Linked DNA regions of Homo sapiens: region 2 is linked to region 1. Evidence: promoter capture Hi-C in human tissues and cell types (Jung and others, 2019). All regions are on one chromosome and are shown on one strand. Each heading gives the region's core, a stretch centred on a gene start or on the middle of the fragment in contact. The rest is flanking DNA. Distances are from core to core; before and after follow the strand shown. Region 1 holds the start of VTI1B (vesicle transport through interaction with t-SNAREs 1B). Region 2 overlaps PLEK2 (pleckstrin 2).

Region 1 (3,840 bases), core at 49-2,548:
ACCCTGTCTCAAAAAAAAAAATGATAAATAATAAAATAAAACTGAAGTCCCATCCCCTATTCTTTTACTCTGATTTACTTTCCTGTATTCTTTAACACTGCCTCTTAATAGTTATATATTGTTTATCACCTACCCACTAGAATGGGGATGTTCGTATCTTTTTCACTGTAATTTGCAATATTCACCAGCACCTAGAACGGTGCCTCACAATTCACCAGCACCTAGCACACAGCAGCCTCACAATAAATATATATTAAATACATGAATTTCATTCTCACCAGTCATTCAATTCCTATGACCTTGAGTAATTCGTTGAGCAAACACCCAAGCTCTGACTCTTAAATAAAAGCAATAAAACAAAGTTTTGTCCTTGCCATCAAATTCTATATATCCGGAGGCCAAGAACTATAGCAGCTTTTCCTATGGATTTAGGGCCGGAAAACTCTAGCTCCTCCAGACAGAACTTGTAGCAACCTGAATCATGAAATTAAGGGGTAGTAAACAGTCTCAGCTGTAAAAACGTTCAAAACAAGACCACATCTAAATGCCACAATCAGGTTTTAAAGGCCAGCTCTCTACCCTCCAATAACTGGTATTTACCAACACCCCCAAATTATGACTCCTTTGGGTTTTTAACCCTTTTTCTGTGCTACGGATCCTCTGTCAGTCTGGTGAAAACTAGACCTGTCTTGAGACTAGTGCTTTTAAATGCATAAAACAAACAAAAACAGCTATGAAAGAAACCCACTCTACATTACAGGACCGCAGATGCAAAAGCCCCTCTGCTCTATTTGCCACAGTGAAAAAAGATGAGAAAATGTGGAAGGCCATAGAAGGATCCCAGGGAACTGAATCCCGAGGTCCAATTTACTCTCAGTGGCAGCAGGGAGACCTGGGGCTGGGACAAGCCAGCCCTAGGGGGCGTGTCTGAGGACGCGGAGGGAGGAGACGCGGGCCCGGGTCTGGGAGGAAGGTGGGAGAATCTTCCTTCCAAAGCGCGCAGGGCTGCGCTCCCCACGGCGTGGCCCACCCCCGCCTCACCGGTCCCCGCCGTCCCCAGCAGCCGCTCGGGCACCCCTTGTAGGTCTTCATGGAGGCCGCGGAAGATCTCGTGCAGCTTCTCGAAATGCTCCGAGGAGGCGGCGGAGGAGGCCATGGCGCAGGCCGCGCTGGAGCAGCGGCCACCGAGATTCGGGGCCCTGGGCCCTTTCCTAGCCCGGCGGTCAGCCGCCCAGCCCAGTGGCCATAACGGCGACCGCCGCACCACCGCCGCCCAGGACGAGGCTCTTCCGGAGCCGCGGCAGGGTCCTCTCGAGCCGGAACGCCCACCTTCTCCAGCCAGTGATTGCTGGAGCGCCGGCGCGAAAGCCTGACGAGAAGTCGGGAGACTGCGCGGCCTAGGCGACTCCTGAGGGAGCGGTGCCGCGCCGGGGCGATCGGCAGTCGCGGAACCCGAGAAGTGCCGGGTCCGGGTTGGGGAAAGGCCGCAGCGAAAGGGGCCTAGGGGACCTGCGGGACTGGCAGCGCGGCCGCCTTCCTCCCGGGCCCCGCCGGCCGGCGAGGGGCGGGCGCTGCAGTGCACGCCGGGGGATGTAGTTTGGCTCGGACGAGAGCGTCTCGTCCCGGGGTCGCGCGTTGCTCCGGGTGCCAGGTTCAGCCCGCGCGGCGACAGCGGGCTTCGGCCCGATTTGATGTATGTTTGCGTCTAGACGTCGTCCTCACTGTCATCGCGCTTTGCTTTGCCACCCTGACCCGAATTCCTCGTTTCGCGTCTTGACTGTTAGCTTTCGGCCCTGGAAAGATAGCCGGGCCAGGGGCTCTGCCTGCCGTCGGGAGGTGGAGCACTTTTCTTGGAAGGCCCAGCGGCTCCCCAAGCTTTCAGAAGTGGAACCCGGCCGGGCGAGTGGCTCGCGCCTGTAATCCCAGTACTTTGGGAGGCCGAGGTGGGAGGATTGCTTGAACCCAGTAGTTCGAGACCAGCCTGGGCACAATAGCGAGAGCTCTACCAGAAACCCAAAATAAGAACCGGGCATGGTGGCGCGCACTTTTGGCCCCAGCTACCCCCGGAGGCTGAGGTCCCACCACTGCACTCCAGCTTTGGGAGACCTTGCTCCCAAGTGGAGCGAGATCTTGTCTCCAAAAAAACAAAAAACCCAAAAACCAAAAATTCAAAAGTGGAACCCAGTTAGGATGACCTCGAAATACTCTAGCTGCTAGGCCCGAGTAATTCTCCTCGTGGAGACTAATTCTCCTCCTAGGCTGCCTCGTGCACTTGTTGACAACAGGTGTTTGTCAAGCGTAGGCATTGCGAGGGATCTGGGCATGTTGGTGAATAAAACATTTAATCTCTGCTCCAGGGGAATTTATAATCTGGTGTGGAAGGTGGGCCTGGCTTCATTAGGTCTCATCTGCCACTAAGTGTCACGTGTTAAAAATTACAAGGTCCCTTCTTGCACTCCATGGGTATAAATTCCTGTCTTCACGTCGGGCATGGTGGCTCACGCGTCATCCCAGCACTTTGGGAGGCCGAGGCGGGCGGATCACTTCAGGTCAAGAGTTCAAGACCAGCCTGGCCAACATGGTGAAACCCCCGTCTCTGCTAAAAACACAAAAATTAGCCAAGCGTGGTGGTGGGCGCCTGTAACCCCAGCTACTCGGGAGGCTGAGGCAGGAGAATCGCCTGAACCCGGGAGGCAGTGGTTGCAGTGAGCTGAGATCGTGCCACCACACTCCAGCCTGGGTGACAGAGAAGACCCTATCTCAAAAAATTAAAATAAATTATTATTTTCACCGATTTCACGGTTTGCTCAAGGTGTCTGTTCTCAAATGTTTGCTTGGGAGTTCAATTTTAAACTGCCTACAAATATTAAAAGATGTATGACTGCTCAGGAGAAAATGCTTTGCTAATTTGTATCTCCTGGGCCCTCATTTTTATTAGATCAAGTTCATTGGCTGTTGATTCAACACACTTTGGTTAAGCTCTTAATATGCACTGAGCATAGACATGACCAAGTCTGAGGATAGTCAGTATACTGTGTAAGTCCCACAGCACAATGCTGGGACTTGTCACAGTACAGAAATAAGGGGCAGGTGCAAAAAAAGGATCAATAGCCTGGGGCCGGGTGCTGCGGCTCACACCTGTACCCCAGCACTTTGGGAGGCCAAGGTGGGAGGATCGCTTGAGCCCAGAGTTTGAGGCCAGCCTGGGCAACAAAGCAAGACGCTGTCTCTAATTAAAAAGAAAGGAAAAAAAAATGGCCCGGGATGATCAAGAAATGTGGAAAAAGTGTCTGTGAAGAGTGTCAAAAAAGGTTAAGTAGGAAATGGTGAATGAACAATTAGATTATCACACAACCTAAATTAATAGCATGTGGATTGAGATTACACTGTAGCTAGACTCTGGAACAAATTATTCTTTAGAATGAGAAATCATTGCACAACCATAATAATGAACAGTGTTTTCTTCTTTTGACTGTAATCAAACTTTTAATTCTTAGTTTTTATTCTGGTAAATGAAAACAAAAAATAATCAAAAAGAATTTTTATTTGTCATTGACAGTTCAATATAAATTAAGTAAAACATTAATTCATTTATTCTGCACTATTATCAGAATTTTTCTAATTTTTCCGTAAAATGACCATTTCTAAACATATAGCTTAATGGTCAAAACAAGTGCAATAAAAGATTAATTTACAAGTATCAGAAGTGAAGACTGTGGTCCTATAACTCTTTCCCCCACCAAAGTTAAAATATAATTGTCATTCCAGGAAATCAAAATCTTTTAGAATAGCACACTCCAAACAAGTGATGGGAACACTACTAATTCCTTAGACTTCCTT
Region 2 (3,834 bases), core at 1,155-3,654, 280 kb before region 1:
AGCAAGCATAGAATTTGGAGTTTGATCTCAAATTGTTTAACTTATTGGAACCCCAGTTTCCACAGACACAAGATGGGAATAATATCTTCTTACTATGGCTGGCTATTGTGAAATTAGTATTATGATACATATTAAGGTATGTTGTTAACCCTAAAGCATTGTGTAAGCCTCACCTATTATTTTTAGGCGGAAGCTTATGGGCCATCAGCACAGAAACTGAGGGGAAAGATTATTAACATAAGGATTACTTAGTTGTATTCTTAAAACGCCAAGAACATACCCTTTGTTCAATTCTGAAATTCACTTCAAAACTCACACCACTCTGTCTCATGGAGAAAGCCCTGCTCGGCTCCCAAAGCTGTCATTTCATTAGTGGGACATTACTGAGGTGCAGGAGGGAGGCCCCTGAGATCTTCAGGCCAGGGCTGAAGTTGTACCTTACCAGTGGGAACGCCATTATCTTCCAGAGCAGACACGAGTGAACCACGAAGAGAAAACCCACCCACTGGCCTGTTCTCTTCCTGTAGAGGAAAGGAGACCCAATTAGGAATTTGTGAATGAACAAAAGGGAAGAGTTGCACTCCCCTTACAACTCAGGCCAGCTAAAGAAGTGAGTGCAAATCATTTGTAATAGAAGATGAAGCTGAACTTGGACATCACATGGCCAAAGCTGCATGCATCAGTAAGGAAGCTTGGGCCTCTTCATTTCACAGCCAGCAGCAGTAGTGCCCATCAATGTTGCAGTTACCAAGTCTCACAGACTTGCAAATCTGCTTTTCATTCCTGGAGATGTCTCAAACAGAGCCTCTGATCCAATATGCTACCCGGAAAAACATTCACTGGCTTCCTTAACCCTTGTGTGCATCTTACAAAGCAATCAGAAATATATATTTATAGTAATCATTTCTTTTTTTTTGAGACGGAGTCTCACTCTGTCTTTCAGGCTGGAGTGCAGAGGCACGATCTCGGCTCACTGCAACCTCTGCCTCCCAGGTTCAAGCGATTCTCCTGCCTCAGTCTCCCGAGGAACTGGGATTACAAGCACACGCCACCACACCTGGCTAATTTTGTATTTTTAGTAGAGGCAGGGGTTCATCACCTTGGCCAGGCTGGTCTCAAACTCCTGACCTCAAGTGATCTGCCCTCCTCAGCCTCCCAAAGTGCTGGGATTACAGACATGAGCCACTGCACCCAGCTATAGTAATCATTTCTGCAAAGTTGATAGATTCCTGCACATAGGACATCGTTACACAAATCTAGTATGTGCCTAGCAAGAAACTTCGTGTGATACAAAACTGCGATTGGTGGTATCCCTGGACGATTCAGGGCAACTTTACACACCTCGTGCCTCAGGCCCTAGGAGCCCTTCAATTAATCAATAATCAACTTCATACTGCATGTTGGGCCCAGCAAGAGGTAGGGCAAAAAATAAAATGGTTAAATAAAATACTGGAAATATTTGTACTACTAAATGCCAACGGGAGGAAAGTTCAGAGAAGGAAGGGATCCGCCCCAGCCTGGAGGGTTCAAGGGCAGTCTCAGGGAGGACAGGAGAGTCCTGTCCTGGATAGGAGAGTAGGTCCCCAGGACAGGAGAGGGGCATTCAGCCTAAACAGGAGGAAGAGTGGGAGTAAAGTGCGGAACAAATTAATTGCAGAATGCTTTTGAGATGGTTCCTTATCTTGTACCTGCAGCCCAGAGATTTGGCAATTCTTTTATTTCCTTTGCACACTTGCTTTGAGTAATCTCTTCTGCACTGTTTCCATCTATGTATGTATATGAGCATTTGTGCATGTGTACATATATATGTATATATGTATATTTACATGTATATGTATTTATAGATAGGTGTGTATAGGCACGTATGTGTGTGTATATATTTTCTCAGTTTCCTATTTTAAAAGCTGAGACAGCAGACTCATCAGGGGCACAAAGAAAGTAGGTTAGGCTAGACCATGGTGAGAGTTAAATACAAAACTAAAGTGTTTTTTTTCTTTTTTTTTTTTTTAAGTGTTTTTTCATTTGTTTATTTTTTCCTTGCTTCAAACAGGATTTGAGGTAGCCAGAAAGGAAGGAGTTTGAACTCCATCCTGTAGCCAGGCCACCATGCCCCACAGAGAGGTCAACTGGAGCTTTTTGGAGGCTCCTCCTGCCACATCCCTCCCTGGCCCTGGCCTAGCTGGGTCCAGGCAGGGGTTCCTGACTGAAGCTCAGTGAGGAAGGAACTGCCCACTCTTCACTGTTTCAACAAAAACTAATGAAAGTCATACATTGCCCAAGACAAGGCTGAACAGCTAACTAAAGGGCCCTTTTTCTTTGCTTTTGACTGGAATTAGATCCACTTAGCATGTGGTAATACCTAGTATCAGAAACATAAAAATGATTTTTTTTTAATTTGCCATCAAAGTTTTTTAAAAAGCAAATTAGTAAATTATGGCTTAAATATTATATGGTGACAGAAACTTTTCAAAACATAGGTGGGGAAAAGTGGAGGGAGGCAGAATTAATGGGATCTTTGAATGGAAAGTGTGGAGAGGCTGGGAAGTGCCAGTAGGAGTCTCTGTCAGCCTACCTCATCCTCCCTACTCACAAAGCAGGCTTTGGGGAAGACCAAAAGATGCTTTTCCTCTGAAAATGATAAAGATGCCCTCCCATGGGAAAGTGGGGGATTAGGCATGGAAGAAACGGCTCAAGAAGCAGGCACCTATGTGATGACAGGGCAGAGCAGCTTGGACTGTGGAAGGAAAGGCATGGTGCAGCAGACTTTACGGCGGGTGCCAGGGGAAGGCAGGATATCCAGCCAGCTGCCCGCCATGCCAGGAGAGGAGTGTCTGGGGGCATCACAACATGGGACCAACATGGAGCCAGCATGCGCACTCACTTTGGAAGGGTCATAGTAATGCAGGAAAGCTGGATCCTTCCTTAGAACAAAGCGACGCACCTTCCAGTTTTTCCTCTTGTGTCCCTGAGGCAAAGAAATGGTTCAAAGCTCATTGGTGACAGCTGCATGTCCCTCTCTCCTGTATCTATGCATGTAATGCCAAACCCCCAACAAGCCAGCCCGCTCCAATGGGACTACATTCTAAAACCAGTCCACAGGAAACCTGAGGATAGCAATGACATGTCACAGACCTCCCTGCCAACACCCCCACTCAGTGACACTGTAGCAAAAATGCCATCACCTTAAGTCAAGTCAGCAGAGCCAAAGAGAGTCCATGCAGAAGGAAAGGGGACACACAATACTCAGGGCATAAAGGAGGACAGGGAGGCAGCAGGTGTCAGCTGGGCTGGGAGCACACAGGCAAACTTGAACCCAAGGGCACCAGCTAAGGGCCAAGTCAGTCCAAAAACAAACCTACAGCTACATGTATATTTGTCAGTCTACACGTGTGCCCACATGTGCAGTAAAACCACTTTCACATTGTGCATTAGGAAAAAAGCAAGAAACGATCAATTATATGATAAAATCTAAATGTGTAAGCAGCTGATATGTGTGTGTGTGTGTGTGTGTGTGTGTGTGTGTGACTTTCTTTGGCCTCACTGACCAGGAGGGCTAAGGTTAGATCACAAACCTTAGCCCTCCTAGTCAGGAACACCCTCAGAGTCCCTCCCACACCCTCCTCAAGCTCCCCTAGGGGCCTCTCTTCCTCCCCTCGGGAAGGACTCCTATCAGGCCCAGCAGAAGCAGGGCCTTGGTGTAGACAGGCAGCAGTGGGGATGATAAGAATCTAAGAGCAGATGAGGATCCTGATATGCAGGAAGCAGGTGACAGCAACAGCACATGCTCCGAGTAACGATGGGAGTGGTGCCGAGCCGTGTAGGTGCCCTCTGTGC

What was found. The method cuts DNA at HindIII sites, captures the fragments that hold promoters and counts their contacts. A contact is called where the count stands out against the background at its distance.
Region 2: a contact is called between a fragment that was not itself captured here and the fragment with the promoter of VTI1B in region 1, in 1 of the 25 tissues and cell types used here (mesendoderm cells).

Annotation. Positions count from the first base shown.
Region 1 is chr14:67,673,334-67,677,173 of GRCh38, forward strand. It overlaps VTI1B (vesicle transport through interaction with t-SNAREs 1B), which reads right to left and starts at 1,299. Exons shown (of 6, transcript NM_006370.3): 1 at 1,042-1,299. The coding sequence starts at 1,156. RDH11 (retinol dehydrogenase 11) reads right to left here. Exons shown (of 7, transcript NM_016026.4): 7 at 3,467-3,840. It also overlaps a transcript of GPHN not described here. RefSeq lists silencers at 974-1,083, 1,184-1,623. The HindIII fragment of the contact is 11,558 bases long and covers 1-3,840 here.
Region 2 is chr14:67,387,782-67,391,615 of GRCh38, forward strand. PLEK2 (pleckstrin 2) reads right to left here. Exons shown (of 9, transcript NM_016445.3): 7 at 2,882-2,965; 8 at 443-521. It also overlaps a transcript of GPHN not described here. Among named protein-coding and RNA genes, the nearest start is that of PLEK2, 22 kb to the right of the region's middle. RefSeq lists a silencer at 1,511-1,805. The HindIII fragment of the contact is 3,925 bases long and covers 443-3,834 here.